7 separate regions of the Homo sapiens genome follow, and all the other regions are linked to region 1. Evidence: promoter capture Hi-C in 16 types of primary human blood cells and fetal thymus (Javierre and others, 2016). All regions are on one chromosome and are shown on one strand. Each heading gives the region's core, a stretch centred on a gene start or on the middle of the fragment in contact. The rest is flanking DNA. Distances are from core to core; before and after follow the strand shown. Region 1 holds the start of SDK1 (sidekick cell adhesion molecule 1). Region 2 overlaps SDK1 (sidekick cell adhesion molecule 1). Region 3 overlaps SDK1 (sidekick cell adhesion molecule 1). Region 4 has its middle 27 kb from the start of GNA12. Region 5 holds the start of GNA12 (G protein subunit alpha 12). Region 6 overlaps SDK1 (sidekick cell adhesion molecule 1). Region 7 overlaps SDK1 (sidekick cell adhesion molecule 1).

Region 1 (2,700 bases), core at 29-2,528:
AGATCCTCTTTCCCTATTTCAGAGCTCACCACTGTATTCTAAACAGAAGCCAATAGAGGGAGAAAAACAAAGCCAAGTGCAAAAGCTGTGGGCACTGAAAGTTTTGCTCCACCGGCCGCGCAGCACCCACTTGGGGTCGGGCTTTGGGACTTGGGGGAGTCAGGAGCAGGCGGGGGCTGGGGAGAGGACGAGGCCCTGGGGAGGGGCTGGAAAAGGCTTTTCACAGCGACTGGCACTTGATATTTCCAAGTCTTCTGGATGTCACTCACCGGAAACCAGACCCTGCGGTGCGAAGACTCAGGTACAGACCAGCCCCTTTTTCATCCATGCAATGGGAAGGGGACTCGGGCATCCTTTTAAGGAGCTGAGAAATGGGTCCTCAACTTAAAAATTTTTGTTTGTGCTACTGCGGTATAAAAAAAATAAAACGCAAAGTAGCAGACGGGGTGCAGGCTCTACGGGGCTCCGTTTCCCTCTCCTCCGAGTCTGGCGTGGAGGAGCCCCTGGGCTCCCTAGAGCCCCCAGCAAGGCGCATCCCGACCCGGGCCGGGAAGCGGGGGGACCCCGGACACACTCTCGCTGCTCAAGTTCGCGCCTCCGCGCCCCGAGGCGACGCCCCCGGCCCGCGACCCCGCGCGCACCTACCTTGCGCCAGCGCCCGGAGCAAGTGCAGCTGCAGCGCCAGCAGCGCCCACCAGCCGCGGCGGCCCGGCCCCAACTTTGCCGCCCGCCGCCCGCCGCACCGCCCCGCGCCCGCCGTGTCCCCGCCGGAGGTCTCGGGCGCCGCCCGGGGTCGCGAGGGCTCCGGGCCGGGGCGCGGCGCCAGCGAGGGGCGGGCGCGGCCGGGCGGGGATCCCCGCGGCCGCCCGGGGCCCGCGCGCTCAGGGGGCTCCGCGCCGCCGCCGCCGCCACCGGCCGCCGAGGGCCGGGCGCCCCGGGCCATGCCGAGCAGCCGCCACCCCGAGCGCCGCGCCGGACGGACGGGCGGGCAGGACAGGCGGGACGGCTCCGAGCGGGCGCGGCCACTCCGCGGGAGGCGCGGCGCCCCCCGGCCCGAGGTGAGCGGCCGCCCAGCGCTGAGGGGCGGCGTCCTGGGTCCCCGCGTGAGGGGCGCGGCGCGGGCCGGGGACGAGCCGGGCGAGAAGAAGTTGTCAACGGGGGAAATTCGCGTCCGGCGCTCACGCAGTCCCGAGCCCGCCGCGCTAGCTCCGAGGGGTCCGCCGGGCGCGGAGGAGCCGCCGCCGCCGCCGCCCCCGCCCGGCGCTGAGAAGAAAGTGCGCCCGCCCGCACGTCGCGGTCGCGCTCGCCCTCAGCTGCCGCGGCCGCCGCTCCCCATTCACAGCCCGGCCGCACGCGCCGCCCGCGCCCGCCGCCCGCCGCCCGCCGTTGATTGGCCGAGGGAGGCGGCGCCCGCTCCCAGGGCCCGCCCCCCAGGCCCTCGCTTGTTTTCAAAGTCGCGGCGCCCGCCCGCCTGCAATTTTGTGCCGGCCGCGGCGCCTGGCTCGGGCGGCTTCCCGCGCCGGCTGCGCCCCCTAGGGACCCGTAGTGGGGACTGCAGGCGGCGTCGATTCGGCACGCGCTCCCGTGGCGGGCTCGCGGGCGGGGGTGGTGCATCCTCGCCCGGCCCCGCAGCGGTGCGGGCGCCCGAGTGGGAAGGGCTCAGGTGCAGCAGGACGCGCAGATCGTGCGGCAGCCCAGGGCCGAGGGCGGAATAGGGCGCGCCCCGAGAGGCGCCCGGCTACCACCAGCTAGCTCAGTGCTTGGGGGTGACGCGCCAAGTTACCGTAATTGCAAACACGCGCAATCGGGTTTTTAATTTCTAGCAACCAAAGGCACCACTGGGTGCAAACTCGCCTCCTGTTCAGAGGAGTGGATATGGCATTGTAGAAGCGTCCAAGGTCACTTTTGGCCGGCGCTGGAGGAGGGCGGGGTAGGGAGGGACACATTGCAGGTTTCCCACCGTGGAGTGGGCGAGTCTTGGGGCAGGGTCGGCCAGTGGGAGGGTCTCCCAGGGCGGGACCCGGGAGCCTGTGGGGCTGGGGGTGGGGACGGGCGCCGACGCTCAGCATGTGGTAAGCATTAGCAGAGTTTATGGGGTGAACTAAGCGCACTGGAGGCTGAAAGGCCAGCATTTTTGTGGGAGGAGAGCTGGAGGTGACACGCACTGCCTCTGGAGTTGGCCCGGGAGGAGCCTGGGGACGTGTGATGATGGTCGCATGAGATCATGTAAGAGATGAACGCAGAGGGGCTGGGTGTGAGCCCAGCACGGGGCTGACTCCCCAGGAATCACCTGATGCAGTAGGTTTATTGTCCCAGCCAAGAAAGACCCCGGGCGAGTGGAGAGCAGGTCACAGGGCTGGGGTCTGGGATAGGAGCCAGCTCCTGCTCACAGAGCGCCTATGGTATTTGTCAAATAACTGATTGGTGGCTCAATATTAGCCTCTGTACACGTCCCCTAAGACTTAACAATGACCACGTGAACAAAACAGGGAAACTGAGGTCCAAGTACAGCCGCCGAACAGGAGGTGGTTTCAGAAAGAGGCCTCCCATCTGCCCCCTTTCCACACCATGCTAGGAGGGGCAAAAAAGTTAAAGGAGCCACGGAGTGCCCTGTTCTGAGGATATAGTGAGGGCGCATAGATGGGACGAGCCGGAAGAGGACAGCTCCCCAAGGACATGGGGATGAGACTGGAGGCAGAG
Region 2 (2,700 bases), core at 26-2,525, 410 kb before region 1:
TGATTTTTCCTTAGTTTGATTTTTCCTTTTTCTTTTTTTTTTTTCTTTTTTTTTGGTGAGACAGGGTCTCACTTTGTCACCCAGGCTGAAGTGCAATGGCGCCGTAATAGCTCACTGCAGCACTGACCTCCTGGGCTCAAGCAGTTCTCCACCTCAGCCTCCTGAGTAGCTGGGACTACAGGGGTGTGCACCACGCCTGGCTAATTTTTTGATTTGTTTGTAGCAATGGGGTCTCACTACCTTGCCCAGGCTGGCCTCAAATTCCTGGCCTCAAGCAATCCTCCCTCATCAATGTCCCTCAAAGTGGTGGGATTACAGGTCTGATATTACACGTGATAACACGTGGCCTCCCCTCATACTTGAATGATATTTTTGCCAAATACAGAATTCATGGTTGACAGATTTTTTTCAGAGTTCTAATTTTTCCTTAGCTTTCAGAAATTACTTATTTTCAACACAGAAGTTTAAGTGTCTTCAAATTGATTTCTTAGGGTCTATTGTGATTCATTCAGCTTCTTGAATCTGTAGGCTTGTGGAGTTTTTTTTTTCCCCCAATTTAGAAAGCTTTCACCTATTATTTCTTTGAATGCTTTTTCAGTCCCAATTTTCTTTCTCATCTCCTACTAGAACTCCAATAAAATTAAAGTTAGATCTTTGGTTACAGCCTCACAGGAGCCTCTGTTCATTTTTTTTTTTTTTTTGTCTACCTTTTTCATTGTTGGTCAGACTGAGCAAATTCTATTGATCTATCCTCATATTCACCGATCTATCTTTGTCTTCTCCACTTTATTACTGAGCTAATCCTGCTAGTTTTTAATTCTGGTTATGGAATGTTTCAATTCACTCACTTTCACTTTTTAAATAATTTCTTCTTCTTTGCTGAGATTTTTCTATTTCTTCATTTGTTCAAGGAGAATGAATAGTTTGCTGCTGACGCCCTTTTATGATGGCTGCTTTAAAATCCTTGTCTGGTAATTGCAACAGCTGACTCACTTCAATTTTGGCCTCAGTTGATTGTGTCTTCTCATTCAAGTTGTGATTTTTCCTTGTTCTTTGTATGTTCAGTAATTTTCCATTCTCTGTGGACGTTTTCGATATTATGTTAAGACTCCTTGTCCTATTTAAATCTTTTATTTTAGATGGCAGTTGCCTGATGGGTTTAGGGTATAGGACTTTGCCTACTTTTTTGGGCTGTAGTTCCAATGATAATGTGTTTTTCAGAGCTGTCCTGGTCTCCTTTGTTCTGTAGGGTCTGGGGATCCTTCTCTATCCCTGCTATTGCCTCCTGTGGGACAGAACGCACTTCCCTGGGCTTCCCTGCATCACCAGGTAGAAGGTGAGGGGTGTCTGGTTCGGTAGGCTGAGAGGATATCTTTGGGCTATCAGTTGCTGGTGGCTCTGTCAGTCTTGACTAGTGCCACCTGAGGAGGGAAGAACCTACGTAGCCTACCTTCTCCCACTGTAAACGGATCGGAAAATGCTGGGTCAAATATATTTTGATTTAATAAAATTTCTGGTAAGTGGATACATACATGAATTTATATATAGTCTGCAGCTCATCTGCAAAAAGTAAAATAAAACCTTAAATTTACAATTACATTTGTACAATTTATGACGATCTAGTATATTTGTGAACAGGGTGATTTAGTATCTCTCACTAAATAAGCTAATTATATGTGCAATTATTTTGGAATATAGTGAACAATAAGGACAATTACAACCTTAGCATTTAACAGATTTTAAGCCATCATTGGAGAAGCTGAGGCATCTGAGAGATGAGTATTCTCTCTACTTGATTCTTCATTTATTTTTTACTTAATTGAGTTTTAATGCTACATAATATTGAATCACAACTTAAAATATGAGAATTACCATCAATCTAAGCCCACATTGCATTCTCTCAAAGCACATTTTAAAATCTAAAAATTGGTGTCATTTATTAATTTCATTGTAATTTGCACTTAATTAGAACCTCTCCAAGCTTGACACTTACACACAAAATGACTCATTCTGGCACAAGTGGGAAATGAACCGTCCTACAAAAGCAAATCTCCCAGATACTTGACACTCAACGCTTCAAGCATGGAAACTTGTTTTAGAAGCACTTTTGAGAGAAAATAAGTGTCTTGAAATTAATTACACAGCAGTTCTGTACCTGCTTCAATAAAGTGTATTAAACGACATTTAAACTTTGAAGGCCTCAGGACCATTTTCAGATGTTGTGTACTGTGTTACAATGTAGTAATGCTAATATCACCACTTACATAAGATGTAACAAAATGCAAAGCACTTAAAGGACTGATGTGAAATGAGCAAATGGGATAAACTTATTATTCTTAATTTAAGAGGAAACTGAGACTCTGGAAGGGCGAATAACTAGTTCATATTTAAACAGGTAATTGACAGGTTGAAAAGAGAGTAAAAAAGATAATAACATCCCTATGGTACTTCTATCATTCTAAAGCTCCTTTCACAAATATTTAATTCTAAGAATAGTAATGATTTTCCTTCATATTTTACAATAAGGAAGTTCAGAGATTTTAAGCAACGGGTCTGGCTACACAAGGAGTGATCAAGGCCTCTACCTCCTGGTCTATCTGCAGCCTCTGAGTTTTTCCCGTCCCTCTGAGTCTAAGTCCAGAGCTCTTTCTGTTGCCCTGGATGTGCACCATGGCGTCAACGTGTTGTTGTTTTGAATTC
Region 3 (2,700 bases), core at 128-2,627, 370 kb before region 1:
CCAAGGCATCTCACAGTGAATGTTAATAAACTCATGTAATAACAGGCCGGCGGGGCCTATGGTATGTACTTTTATTTTTCCATGTTTAAACATTGATTATAAATGATTATGAGTTTTAAGGTTCTCACATAAGCTGATAAACAACTAGGAATAGAGAGTATACTAAAAGGAAGAGCCAGTCAACAAAAACCTTCCAGGAAAAGACTCTTTCAGGAAATGAATGCTTTTATTTCCCCTTTTGTCTCTATTGACACTGTCTAGCTCTCCGATCTTTCCGTCCAATGAATGATTCTGTTGATCATGAACCGCCCCCATGGGATTTGTTCCTGCAATGCTTCATTCTGGATTTACACTTCCATTCTATCAAGTGTAGTCAATATCCTGTCTGTAGGATGAGAGTATTGCAGATAAAAATCAATTCCCTTTGGAACTCATTTTCGGAAAAGCTTGGTGCATCACTGAAATTGAGGAACCGCTGCCTTACAAATTGGTCAAATGCTACAAGGAAGTATCTTCATACTTTAAGTATTTATTTACTATCAGCAAGAGCTGCTTCATAGCTAAAAGAAGTAAAGCAAAGATGCTTATTTAAAAAAAATAGAAAAAAGGAATAAAAGAGGAAGTAATATTAAAAGATGCATCTAGAAAAAGTTTAACCATTTCAAGAGTTAGAATAGAGCTTTTACCCAAAGATCACTCCAAACCCTCAAGGGTGGGGATGGGGCCCTCATTGTAGGTGCCTATTTTGGCAAAAGTGTGATCTGTGCATACTTAGAGCTTTCTGTATTTTTTATATATATATATATATATATATATATATATATATAAAATTATATATTATAAAAATATATATTACATTTTTATTTAATATAAATTTAATTTTTATTTAATATAAATTTTATTTAATAACAAATTTATATATAAATTTAATATTTATTTAATATATATTTAATATATATTATTATATATTATATTATATAAATATATATATTATATATATATATTTCTCCACATCATCTCCTTTATCGATCTCACTCTGGGATCTATAAATAGATTGCTTTTGGACTTATTTAGGTACTGGTTTCCAGCTCATCTTTCTTCTTTGCCTGTATGTCCTATCTCTTTTGGCTAATGCCTCTGTTTTTTTCCTCAAGAGTTTGCAGTAGAAGTATAAACACAGCTTTCATCTTTCATGTTGGCTTACCTCCAGTAACGGCAAGAAACAGAGAGACACTTCAAGAACTTGGGGGTGCAGTAGGGTAGATGAGCTGCTTGCTGTGATAGAATAACGTGTGATGGGTATTCACAATAACTGGGCACTACAGAAACAGGATGGGTATGGAAGCCACTCTGAGGATGTTTTCATTCTCACCAGCAGCATCGGCTGCCTCCCTACAATTCTCCCTGCCCTCATTCCTATAGTCCTTCAGGTTAGACCAATGGTCACCACACCATGACCCGCCACTCCTCAGAGTTACCAGGAAAACTCCTCCAAGACCTCAGGAGACCCTGTGTCCCATATCATGGATAAGCCCTCCCAGAGGCCGCCAGGACTTCAGAGCAGCTATGCCTCAGGGTCCATGTGTTCCTGCTTTTAGCTCCAAGCAACTACTGTGTAGGCATGGATCAGTTGTAAAGGGATAAGTCAAGTTCAGCTGATTCCTCCACATTATAAACACAAACAATAAGCAAGCAAGCAAACAAAAACCTGCCCAATCTCACAGACATATTACATAAGAAGGAAAAAACTATAAAATGGTTTCAAAGATTTCCCACTGGCGTTATAATTTCACTTCCTGCTCTTAATTTCTTTTTAATCTCATTATAAAACTCACCAAAAAATGCATTAGGTTTTTCATGAGACTGTCTCAGGGATTATTTTGTACTGAATGACAACATCTACAATGAAAAGTGTTTGATTAGTTAACTTCCTGGAGAAACACAAGTTTATTTTAAACACTCTTCACTTGGATTTTTTTCTATTGACTCAGTCTTAAACTTGTAAATAGGTATAACAGCAATGATATGATCATACAGACTACACATTTGTCTCAGCTATATTGAGAAAGAAGGGATAACATCAGAGCTTACAAATTAGGAATCATAATAACAAAAAGGGTAATGACCAGAGCTTCATTCAATGAGCAACAAAGTATTTTACTCTGTCTTTGGGGAGATGTACATTGATTCCATTTCCTTCTTAAATTTGTGACTATAAATATTTAAAAATTGGTTTAAAAAATGTCCCTGATGGGCTAGACTCACACAATGTAGAGGCCGATGGAATTCTAGAGAACATTAAGCTTAATTTTCTGAATTTACAAGATGAAGAAATGAAGAGACAGTGAGAGGAAGTGACTTGACATTTAAAGTCAGAAACAGACACGAAGTCCAAACCAGATCCTGTTCAGTGTTTCTTGTCTCCTCTAAATATACTGAGTAATGACTTGGATAAGACCAATGCTGAAAACTCAGGGGTAAGGCAAGACACCCCCCGCCTTGAGGTCCCAGTCCTCCAAGGGCCTAGAGCCCAATAGGAGAAACAAACCTCAAGGAACTAGTTATGCAATGAACTGTTTTAACTGTAATCGTGGTAACTATGGCAAAAAAAAGTTACAGGATGTGCTGTAAGAACAAATAATAGACGACCTGTCCTTGTAGGAATCAAAGAAGGTTTCCTAAAAAAGGTTACTCTTGAAC
Region 4 (2,700 bases), core at 161-2,660, 430 kb after region 1:
ACTTGGACCACTGGTGTTTCTCAAACTTGGATGGGTGTAAGAATCATCAGGAAAGTTCATAACATGCGGATTCTTGGACTCTACCTCCAGGTATATTTTGATTCTACAGGTCTGGGCTTGAGGCCTGAGTATCTGTGTTTCTAATAAGCTCTTGGGGGATGCTGCTGGCTTAGGGTCACTCTGGACTCAGACCCCAGACCCCTGCTCACCTGGACCTTCTCCAAACCTTGCACTGGAGAGAAGGTTCTTGAACCTCATCCTGGGGCAGGCACCCATTCCCTGAGAATCCCACTCTACCAGACCTCAAAATGAATAATCAGGCAATGAATAAGCAGATCCCCTCCCACCATGGCCCCAGCCTAACTGTGGAGACAGGCAAGCCTGCTCTCCATGCAGGAACAAAAATCAGTGCTAGAACAAAGGCACAGATCGAGCTGTATCTGGCAGGAGTGGTCAGAATGCCAGAGAGAGAGAGCTCAGGCAGCATTCCCAAGGCAGGTGGTAGACCCAGGGCCCCAGGGAGCGTTCAGCCAGTGGCAGGGGTTTGGGTTGAGCTGGTCTGCCCACTGGAATCAAAGTGGGCTGGGACACAGGACCAGAGTCCCAAATACAACCCTCGGGCTCTGCAAGCCTGGCCCATGTCACGTTCACTGCGCCCGCAAGCCATGAGTCCTGCCCTCAACTTGCGCCTGTGATGCTGTCCTCATCCAGTCCCAGAGAGATGATCCACCTCGGGGCCCTGCATAAGCCCTGGCCTCTGACACTCAGCCCCCATCTCCTTTACACTGGAAATGTCTCAGGTGTCAGCCCTCTCCAGGAAGCCTCCCTGACCCCAGTCCCTTGGTCGGTGCTCCCTGACCCCAGTCCCTTGGTCGGTCCATTGCCTAGGATGGAGTGCAGTGGTGCGATCTCATCTCACTGCAACCTCCGCCTCCCAGGTCCAAGCGATCCTCCTGCCTCAGCCTTCCCCGTGGCTGGGGCTGCAGGCAGGCACCACCACGCCCTGCTAATTTGTGTATTTTTAGTAGAGATGGGGTTTCACCATGTTGGCCACGCTGGTCTCAAACTCCTGACCTCAGGTGATCCACCCGCCTCAGCCTCCCAAAGTGTTGGAATTACAGGCGTGAGCCACCGGCCCCGGCATTTGGTCAGTGCTTTGATGCATGTGTCACATCAGCCTTTGTGTCACCGTCGGGGTGGCCCTGGAGGTGCACGGCTCTGCTTTCCCTCCCAGAGTCACCCTCCACAGGAATGCAGTAGCACCTGGGGCCTGGCAGCTCCTGCCCCACCCGGGACCTTGCTAGAGCTCCCCGTGGGCCTGGAGAGGACTTTCTCACAGCTGCACTGCAGCCTGGGGCTCCTCCCACTTAACCCTCCTTCCTTCCTCTTCTCCTCTGGCAAACACAAGCCCTGCGTCACGGTTGGAAGTTGGTCCCCGCCCACCCTGCATCCTCTCCCTGTATCCTGCTTGGGCATTGCGTTTCATCAATCTCTTGCTCATTTCTTCTGTCTTGACGTCTGCCTCCCAGATGACCAAAGTGACACAGGTAACGAAATGAGTCTCTCTAATGAGTTCCCTAAAGTCCTGGGCCTCCGAGGGCTGCAGGCCCTGCCTCCTCTTACTCATCGCTGACTCCAGGCACCTGGCCTAGAGCTTCACAGGGGCTCAATAGCTTCCTGTCCTGCTCAGGCAGAGAGGGGCAGGCAGGGAGGGTCTCACACTCCAGGGAAGGGTGCTGCCTTTGCAGAGTTGAAGTGGAGTGTGTAGGGGGTGGTGGGGGAGTCCTGGGAGACCGTCAGCCACTCCTTGTGCACGTGGGAAAGGGGGACCCGGACAGGACGGGAGGACGCAGGGTGTGAACAGCATCGGACCCCACAAAGCACCCCTGGCGCACAGAGGTAAGGTCTGCTGGCTCAGGTATCACTAAAAGCCACAGAGTGGCTCACCAAGCCCAACAGGGCCCAGACCAGGCGCTCAGCTCTCACTAGGTCCGATCCCCGCCTCGCCTCTGAGCTGTAGCCCTCTGTGCAGGGGGGGCGCACTCCTGCCCATGGCAGACAGACCCCTCCACTGGGACACACGGGGCCACCACAGCCCAGCGCCCTCTTTCTCCTCCAGGCAGGGTGGACTCTCCTGGGTGGAGACTGATATGGTGAGGCTTTGCGCCTCACCCAAATCTCATCTTTTTTTTTTTTCCTTTGAGACTGAGTCTGGCTCTGTCACCCAGGCTGGTGTGATCTCGGCTCACTGCAGCCTCTGCCTCTCGGGTTCAAGCGATTCTCCTGCCACAGCCTCCCACGTAGCTGGGACTACAGGCACGCACCATCACTTCTGGCTAATTTTTGTATTTTTAGTAGAGACAAGGTTTCGCCATGTTGGCCAGGCTGGTCTCGAACTCCTGACCTCAAGTGATCTGCCCACTTCGGCCTCCCAAAGTGCTGGGATTACAGGTGTGAACCACCGCACCCGGCCCCAAATCTCATCTTGAACTGTAATCCCCATAATCTCCACTGAGTCATGGGAGAGACCAAGTGGAGGTCATTGAGTCACGGGGATAGATTTCCCCCAAGCTGTTCTCGTGAGAGTGGCTGAGTTTTCAGGAGATCTGATGGTTTTACAAGGGGCTCTTCCCGCTTCACTCAGCACTTCACCCTCCTGCCACTTTATGAAGAAGGTCCTTGCTTCCTCTTCACCTTCCA
Region 5 (2,700 bases), core at 6-2,505, 460 kb after region 1:
AGAACCCAAAAGCAAATGCAACAAAAACAAAGATAAATAGATGGGACTTAATTAAACTAAAAAGCTTCGGCACTGCAAAAGAAATAATCAGCAGAGTTAACAGACACCGCACAGAGATTGGACTTTGGGGACTCAGGGTAAAAGGTGGGGGGTGGCGAGAGATAAAAGACTACACACTGGGCCAGGCGCGGCGGCTCACGCCTTTAATCTTAAGGGATACCTGAGCTCCTTCTAGGAGGTTCTGATTCAGTAGATCTGGGAGAGTCAAGAATCTGTAATCAGCTGATCTCTATCAAGAGCTGATTTTGGGCTAGCTCACGTGCTAAGTGTTTGGTAAGTTCATGTTCTCAGTTTATATCTTCATGACGATTTGAGCAATGTCAAGCCATAACCAATGTCGTCAATGACACCCCCGTTTTACAGATGAGGAAACGGAAGCTAAGAACATCCAAAAGGGTTTGTTGGGGGGGGTGGGGAAAGCTGCTAAAAAAAGTTATGCAACTAGTACACCTAGTAACTGGTCGACTGGAGATTCCAACTCAGGCCCAGCAACTCCAGACCCCACTCTCTCAATCACTGTGAGACATAAGACTTTTGGGGGAGCTTCTGGTGATTTTAGTGATTAGTCAGCTTTTCGCAAAGCCTCCTAGAAGCCCATGCCACTCTCAAAGGGTGCATGTGTTTGAAATTTATGGCCCATCCCCCTCCAGTGTTTCTGGAAGGAAAATAGTGTAGAAACAAGATCATCGGAGGGAATACGACGAGCAGCTGAACCTCTTATCAGCATTTCCCAGCCTTTGGGCTACTCCGCGAGGTCCTGGTCTCACAGGCGGACCCAATCTGGGAACCAAGGGAGAATCTTTCTGTACACCTGGCACTTCTCGTCACGCCCCGTCCCCCGAACACCCAATCCAAAGCCCGTTGGGCACGTCTGATGTCCACTCAGAGCAATTATAATTGGCCATGGCGGACGATCGCTCCGCCTCCCGGGCGACCCCGCCTCCCTTTCATTCTGAAAGAAAGAACCTCAGCCTGGGCGTCCAATGAGAAGCGCCTTCACCTCAAAGATCCCGCCTCTTTCGGCGTCGACCCCGCCCCGAGGCCGGAAGGGATGCCCGCCTCCCTTGGCGAGATGAGCCAATCGAAGGGCTCTCACGGCCAGATGGACGGCAGCCGGCCCAATCCGCCGGGCCTCACGCGGCGCCGCCCGCCCCTCCGCCGGGCCCGAGTGGCGGCCGGGCGACGAGTGCGGGCCTCGGAGCGACTGCAGCGGCGGCGGCGGACGCGGCCTGAGGCGAGCGGCGGGGCGTGGGGCGGTGCCTCGGCCCGGGCTCGCCCTCGCCGGCGGGAGCGTCCATGGCCCCCGGGCGCCGGCGGGGCGCGGCCGCGGCCTGAGGGGCCATGTCCGGGGTGGTGCGGACCCTCAGCCGCTGCCTGCTGCCGGCCGAGGCCGGCGGGGCCCGCGAGCGCAGGGCGGGCAGCGGCGCGCGCGACGCGGAGCGCGAGGCCCGGAGGCGTAGCCGCGACATCGACGCGCTGCTGGCCCGCGAGCGGCGCGCGGTCCGGCGCCTGGTGAAGATCCTGCTGCTGGGCGCGGGCGAGAGCGGCAAGTCCACGTTCCTCAAGCAGATGCGCATCATCCACGGCCGCGAGTTCGACCAGAAGGCGCTGCTGGAGTTCCGCGACACCATCTTCGACAACATCCTCAAGGTGACGCGCGCCCCCCGCCCAGCACCTGCACCCAGGTGGGCCGGGGCGCTAACCCCCGCCCCGGGCCCCTCCGTGGTCCGCCGCCGCGGGCGGGGACCCCTGGGGCGAGGATGCTGGATCCAGCCCCGCCTGCACCCCACTCCCCCCCGACCCATTCCCCGAGGCCTGCTGGCGTCGTCTCTGCCCCACCCCGTCTCGCCCTTTTTGAGATGGGGTCTCGCTGTGTTTCCCAGGCTTGAGTGCAGTGGCGCCCTCACAGCTCACTGCAGCCTCGACCTCCCAGGCTCAAGCCCTACTCCCTCCTTAGCCTCCCGAAGTAGTGGGATTACAGGCGCGCACCACCAGCCCAGCTAATTTTTAAGTTTTTTTTTGTAGAGATGGGGTCTTGCTGTGTTGCCCAGGCTGGTCTCAGTCTCCTGGCCTCAAGTGATCCTCCTGCCTTGGTCTCCCTCAAGTGCTGGGATTATAGGCATGAGTCATGGCGCCCGGTCTGCCTCTGCCCTCTCTAGGGTGCCTGGGGACCGTGGGAGTGGGAACTCGGGCCAGCTTCTGGGGATGGGGAGTGGGGGCTTGGCACTTAGCCCCCTCCTGGATGTGCCCTAGCAGAATGGTATCTGTCCATTTCCCACTGGAAGATTTGTGGGATAGGAGCCCAACCGGCCGTGCCCTCCGGCTGAGCTTAGAAGAAGAGCAGTGGAGACTGGACGGGAACCAGCCATGAGTCTCTTTTTACTTTTCTGTTTTTTTAGAAAGGCTCTCACTCTCTTGCCCAGGCTGGTCTCAAGCCATCCTCCCACCTGGGCCTCCCAAAGTGCTGAGATTACAGGTGTGAGCCACACTTTCTAATACGAAAACTTCAAATGTATACAAAAGTAGAGAAAATAGTAGATTGACTGTAAAGTACCTACAGCCCAACTAAAGCAGTCATCAATTCTGTGCCAATCCTATTCACCTGTGCCCTCCCCATGGTCTCCAAGCAAATCCAACTTT
Region 6 (2,700 bases), core at 178-2,677, 390 kb before region 1:
GAAAAAAATTTGGTGTTTATATAACCACACAGTCTCAAAGTAGCATTATAAATGAGTATACAACATTTTATTTGTAAAAAAACAAAAATTATTAATATCGTTAAGAAATATGTCTACACTATTACATAAGATATTAAGTCATATTAATATATAATATGGCATCTAAAATTTTATTATATGTCTAAAATATGTTCATTTATTTTGTAAAAAAGGCTATCATCTCAACAGAAAACTGGCAAATATTACAGGTACACACGTGAAATACTACTGGATGATATATAAATGAAAATATTAAATTACCAAGATGCTACCTTTATCTATCATATTAATATATAATTAAAATAGAAATGTATTTGCCAGTGCAATACTCGATGGTGCCAAGGATACGTAAACTCGACACAAATACCACTTGAAGGCATGTATAAATCGATGCGATTCTAGAATACAGGGGAATGTTTCATATTGTATATTACATTGAATAGATCAAAGAGTATAAATATTCTATAATGTTTCATAAAATATATGAATCACCTCAAAAATATTTATACCCTTTGACCAAGTAATTCCAATTCTAGATTATCTAGTAGACTAAATAAAACATGTAGCCAAGAGTTTATATTTTTATCACATCAGTTTAAATAAGCACAAAAATTGAAGGACATAACTGAAATGTACCCAAATAAACAAATAATTTATGCTACATAACTAAAATACAAATTATTCAACAAGCTTAAAATATGTTATTGAAAAATATGTAATATAAGAAATCCTCTCTGTTTAATGATCATTTAAAGAGAATAGCAAAACTAACTATATAGTATGATCCCAAATTCTAAATACACATGGGCACAGGTGCACACACACAGACACACACATATACACACTAAAGAAAAGTGCAAGAAAAAGCATTTTAAATAGTAACAAGTTATTTTGGGCTGGTGGGATATCTTAGGTTACTTTTTCCTGATTTATTCCTATTTTTTTCTTAGTTGTCTATAAAGTTTTAGAATCAGAAAGAATTTTTTAAGAAAAAATGGAAACTTGAAATTATGTTGGGTCTCTGAACAGAAATCATAATTACAATAAAATTATTAATATAAGTATTTACTTAATGTCTGTCTTCCAACTCAATTATAAGCTAAATGAGAGTAGGAAGCATAACCGTCTTGCTCACAGCTATATTCTGAGTGCCTGGTACATTGTAGGAGTTTAATGAATACTCATGAATGAGTAAGCAAAAATAAAGGGGGACAGACTGAAAGACCCAGCGGGAGGGGAGTGGAAAAGCAAGGTCATAGTGAATCCTGCAGGATAAAAGGCTCAGATAAGCTATTACCTTCTTAAAGACACCCCCATTGCCTCACATTACCTGCCTTATAATACATTTTCAACCCACGCTGTCTGAATGAGTAAGTAGATAAGCCAAGTATTAACTCTTAATTAAGGCAAAAACAAATACTACAAGCCCCCTATTTTTTAAATCTCTGACTTCTACGCATTCACACCTGAAACTAGACCTTCCAGCAAGGGGTGTGTGTTTGTGTTGGTGCTGTGCAACCAAGGTCACAAGAGGAAAAATCAATAATATCAGTTCACAATGCATCATGGTAGATAATCATATTTTTCCTTTTAAAATATCATGCCGGCAGAAAACATTTATCTTCTACTTTGTATTTTGAATATGACTGCCTCCTTATACAGATCCCTGAAAAGGGGAGAGAGTATCCTACTTTTTGAGCCATTTATAACATGCTCCAAGTCCTGTAACGGAAGCAAAGTGCTACTTGGACTCCAGTTGTTTCTTCAATGCAACTCTTTTCTTTGTATTTCCACAGCTGAAGTGGAGGGAGGGGTCCACTGTGATCCAAAATTAAGCCTGTGATTTATCTTGTACTTCGAGTAAGAGCCCTGACCTCTTCCTATCAACATAAGACATTTTCATTCTATGGCATTTTTTACTCTGTGGTAATCATAACAACTTAAGAAAATTGGAGCCTTTTTATTTCTTGCAAATCTAAAGTCCAGAATTCTCTATTGCTTTTCGTATACATTTGAATTCATGTTGAAAGGTGATTCTAAGGAATGAAACATTGGTGTAATTATCTACAATAAATTGGTAAGCTTCCTGTCAAATGATAAGAAAATGAGAAATGAGTATTTTTCTCTAATAAGTTGAAAATTTTTTCTTCCAAATAATTTTCTTTGAAGGACAAAATCAACCAGTGAGGGCAAACACACTGTCTTTGAGTAATTCTAGAAGGTCACAGAGTCCTGGAAGGAAACATTAGCCCAGTGAATGCCTATAGACATCCAGGCTATAATATGAGTGTATTTTATTTCTGAAGTGTTTTGAGACTGTCTATTATGAAAGTTCTTATATACACGCAAAGTATTACTTTTAAATTTTCTTGGATGTCTAAAGACAAGTCATATGGTTTTTATTAATATAAGGTTTATTTTGACCTTGTAGTAGAGAGTTATAATCAACTTGAAAAATATATCAGTATAATGTTACGGGGGTTAAGATTAATATGGAATCTTACAAAAGAAGACCTGCTTTCTTACTTTCTATAAACAACATTGTGTGATGTCTTCCTGGTGACTTATCTGTAAAAGCTATACTATGATCTTATAATTCAATCAATATCAGTGAGGCCACTCGACGCAAGATTTATTGGGTTTCTCTTTATCCTAAATGCC
Region 7 (2,700 bases), core at 4-2,503, 440 kb before region 1:
AAACTTCTTCTAACTCCAAATTCATCTGCTATTTACGTCCAGGCATAAGCTTAACAGACTGCCTCTTTTAAACTACCCCTCACATGAGTCTCCCCACCCTCTCTTACCTCTATATTGAGACTTTTCCCATCAGTTGGTCTGCTTACGTATTACTCTCCCATTCAAGGCACCCAAGGCCTATCGCATTCCTGAACAGAGCCTTTCCTGACACACAACACGTACATTGCTCCAGGAAAGTTCCGTACAATCAAATTCATGCCTATCAATAAGTAGGACCATGTGTACTGAATATCCATACATGCTTCCTCATGTTAATGAGGGTCATTCATCTGGTAGAAAACCAGTCTCCACTGATGACGTACAATTTGCTATTTGTTTGTTTGGTTCTTTGCTTGCAAAAATTCCTTTCTAACATATTTCTCTGTGGGTTTCTTTTCCAATAACCGATCCATTCGACCTCTATCCAAAAGGACACTGACCTTGTAGGAAAGGAAAAACTTTCCTCCACCCTCTTTGGTTCTGTGACTGGGTCTGTGAAATAAACTGACAACAGGCAGACAAACAGGGAATAAAAAGTATATAATTTTATTTGGTGTTAAAAGTTTTACACAGAAAGGGGTGGGAGGAGGACTTCATAAGAATGGCTGTGCTTGGAAGCTTTTATACTATTTGGAAAAAAGACAAAAATGCTAAAGAGAAGTGACATGGCAAAGGAAATGGACTTTGAACTTCTAGGGGTGGCAGACTGTATGAAGGCAAATATGCAAATGTCGGGAGAAACTGATGGGAGATGATGGCTGGCTCCTAGGGCTGGTTTGTGTAAGCCCTTTCTGGTGTCCTCTCATCTCCAGTAATGAGGCTGTTACTCCTTTTCTGGGAAATTCTCCTTACCGGAAGTAGAGCTGGGAGGAACACGTTCACAAGGAAAATTTTATGTTTCAGGCAGACGGGAAAAGGCAGAGAGCTCATCTTGTGTCTTTTTCTTAACTGTTTTCAGCTCAATGTAATCTGTATGCCAGAGTGGTGTGTTTTGGGGTAACATAATCTGATCTCTTACAGCCCTTTATGTCATGAACTTTGCCAGAGATACGGAAAACATTGGGGAGGAAAGGGAAGAAAGAAGGGCAAAGAAATGGGGGTAAAAAAAAAAAGAGGAACAGAGAATTTAATACAACCAGATGTATGAAAACAAAATTTAAACTGCTCCCCCCCCAAATTTGTGCTCTGTCTTTTCTATTTTAAGCGCTAATTCTAAAATCAGTTTAAAAATACAGCATATATATATATATATATATATATATGCACACTACAATATGGGAACACAAATTGCCACTCAAAAAAATAGACAGGGTATTGGGCTTATGGTCAAGATACCTGGATATTGCTTTTGATTCTCTAAGTGCACATATATGAGCATCCAAAGATAGGTCCACACACACGTATATACACACAAGCATCTATGTGTGTGTGTGTGAATGTGTGTGTTTATGTGGAAAAGTCATTTACTACTTGTTCTTTGGTTTGCACAGGAGTGAAACTGAAACAATCAAGTACGTCCATCCCAATAGTTCCTGTCTTTCTTTGAAGAGTCAGTGATATGGAGACATGGGATAAATGGGATTGTAAATGTAAATGATACACTCCTAGCTTAAAGGCTTTATGCAATTTACATAAATCTGCATGCTGAGTTCAAAAAGCACAAATCTGTAGTATTAAAGTTAATTAGGGCAAACTACTATTTAATATGAATCCAATATTCAAGAATAACACAGATAAAATACATACACAACAGTTTTAAAAATCAATTGTTTTAATCATGCTCTGATTAGGACAGCTAAAATAAGCTTCACACAGATATGGCATGGCCAGTGGGGTGCACGATTCCCACACAAGGAGACCACTGCAGGATCACAGAGCAAAGATGAAGAGCATCCCCTGGGAGCTGGGAGAACAGGGGGCTGGGGATTCCTGCTTAGTGTGCCAGTGAGGGAGGTGGGCTGACAGGGCCTTCCTAAAGTTTTGGTTACTCCAAAAATTGGCTGGAAAAACTCAAAACACACTGGCCAGTCCCATGGTTAGAGGGAAAGACTGTCCCAGCAAGCTCTCTGACATATTTCTTAGCACTTCAGAGAGTGCTCAGCACATCCACTTGGTATACAGGAGGTGGCAGGATGGAATTTTCAAGGAGATGTGGCCAAGGAAGCCAAGTTTTCTATAATCCACAGACACCACATTCCATGAGGCTCCAGAGGGAGGCAACAGGTAGATTAATCACAAGGATAGGTCCCTGATAGCCTTTCTATACAAAGTGACCCTTCCCTGTGTCCACACCTGATGAACTACAGAATGTTTCTATGGTTGCTATGAACCACAAAATGTCATCTGAGAAAAGAAGGACCTCAGGAATGGCAGAATAAAAGTCTCTGAAAATCATCTCCTTCATAAAATCAATGAGAACATGGACAAAAATTGTGAAATCAACATTTTTGGAACTCTAAAAATTAATCAAAGGCTTGCAACAATCTAAGTACTGTTTATTCAAGAAAAACAGACGAATCTTGTTAAGAATAAGCAAACTATAAAGTGTTTTAACTTGCCCTATTCCCATACCCCTTCCACTAGTTCCACAGGACCCTTGAAAACCAACAGTCTTGCAACTACAGGAGCTGTGAAAAACAATAGCCTTGAAGCCACTAAGGG

The links. Contacts are between HindIII fragments. The CHiCAGO score rates a contact against its expected background, and 5 or more counts as called.
Region 2: a contact is called between a fragment that was not itself captured here and the fragment with the promoter of SDK1 in region 1, in 1 of 17 cell types (activated CD4 T cells). The highest score is 5.2, in activated CD4 T cells.
Region 3: a fragment that was not itself captured here is called in contact with the fragment with the promoter of SDK1 in region 1 in 5 of 17 cell types (non-activated CD4 T cells, total CD8 T cells, activated CD4 T cells and 2 more); the score reaches 10.3 in non-activated CD4 T cells.
Region 4: a contact is called between a fragment that was not itself captured here and the fragment with the promoter of SDK1 in region 1, in 1 of 17 cell types (fetal thymus). The highest score is 5.0, in fetal thymus.
Region 5: a contact is called between the fragment with the promoter of GNA12 here and the fragment with the promoter of SDK1 in region 1, in 1 of 17 cell types (fetal thymus). The highest score is 5.8, in fetal thymus.
Region 6: a fragment that was not itself captured here is called in contact with the fragment with the promoter of SDK1 in region 1 in 1 of 17 cell types (activated CD4 T cells); the score reaches 5.6 in activated CD4 T cells.
Region 7: a fragment that was not itself captured here is called in contact with the fragment with the promoter of SDK1 in region 1 in 1 of 17 cell types (activated CD4 T cells); the score reaches 5.1 in activated CD4 T cells.

The regions. Positions count from the first base shown.
Region 1 is chr7:3,299,830-3,302,529 of GRCh38, reverse strand. It overlaps SDK1 (sidekick cell adhesion molecule 1), which reads right to left and starts at 1,278. Exons shown (of 45, transcript NM_152744.4): 1 at 646-1,278. The coding sequence starts at 943. SDK1-AS1 (SDK1 antisense RNA 1) reads left to right here. Exons shown (of 3, transcript XR_001744897.3): 1 at 1-301. RefSeq lists enhancers at 477-977, 1,687-2,198, 2,199-2,700 and a silencer at 1,252-1,801. The HindIII fragment of the contact is 8,975 bases long and covers 1-2,700 here.
Region 2 is chr7:3,714,116-3,716,815 of GRCh38, reverse strand. All of the region lies in intron 4 of SDK1 (sidekick cell adhesion molecule 1), which reads right to left. Among named protein-coding and RNA genes, the nearest start is that of SDK1-AS1, 360 kb to the right of the region's middle. The HindIII fragment of the contact is 1,417 bases long and covers 567-1,983 here.
Region 3 is chr7:3,670,887-3,673,586 of GRCh38, reverse strand. All of the region lies in intron 4 of SDK1 (sidekick cell adhesion molecule 1), which reads right to left. Among named protein-coding and RNA genes, the nearest start is that of SDK1-AS1, 320 kb to the right of the region's middle. The HindIII fragment of the contact is 1,857 bases long and covers 449-2,305 here.
Region 4 is chr7:2,869,471-2,872,170 of GRCh38, reverse strand. No RefSeq gene overlaps it. Among named protein-coding and RNA genes, the nearest start is that of GNA12, 27 kb to the right of the region's middle. RefSeq lists an enhancer at 1-547 and silencers at 1,354-1,573, 2,521-2,700. The HindIII fragment of the contact is 7,417 bases long and covers 1-2,700 here.
Region 5 is chr7:2,842,863-2,845,562 of GRCh38, reverse strand. It overlaps GNA12 (G protein subunit alpha 12), which reads left to right and starts at 1,255. Exons shown (of 4, transcript NM_007353.3): 1 at 1,255-1,710. The coding sequence starts at 1,402. RefSeq lists enhancers at 762-891, 874-1,168, 1,131-1,948 and silencers at 1,062-1,391, 1,732-1,781. The HindIII fragment of the contact is 20,086 bases long and covers 67-2,700 here.
Region 6 is chr7:3,690,527-3,693,226 of GRCh38, reverse strand. All of the region lies in intron 4 of SDK1 (sidekick cell adhesion molecule 1), which reads right to left. Among named protein-coding and RNA genes, the nearest start is that of SDK1-AS1, 340 kb to the right of the region's middle. The HindIII fragment of the contact is 1,392 bases long and covers 732-2,123 here.
Region 7 is chr7:3,740,589-3,743,288 of GRCh38, reverse strand. All of the region lies in intron 4 of SDK1 (sidekick cell adhesion molecule 1), which reads right to left. Among named protein-coding and RNA genes, the nearest start is that of SDK1-AS1, 390 kb to the right of the region's middle. The HindIII fragment of the contact is 1,187 bases long and covers 660-1,846 here.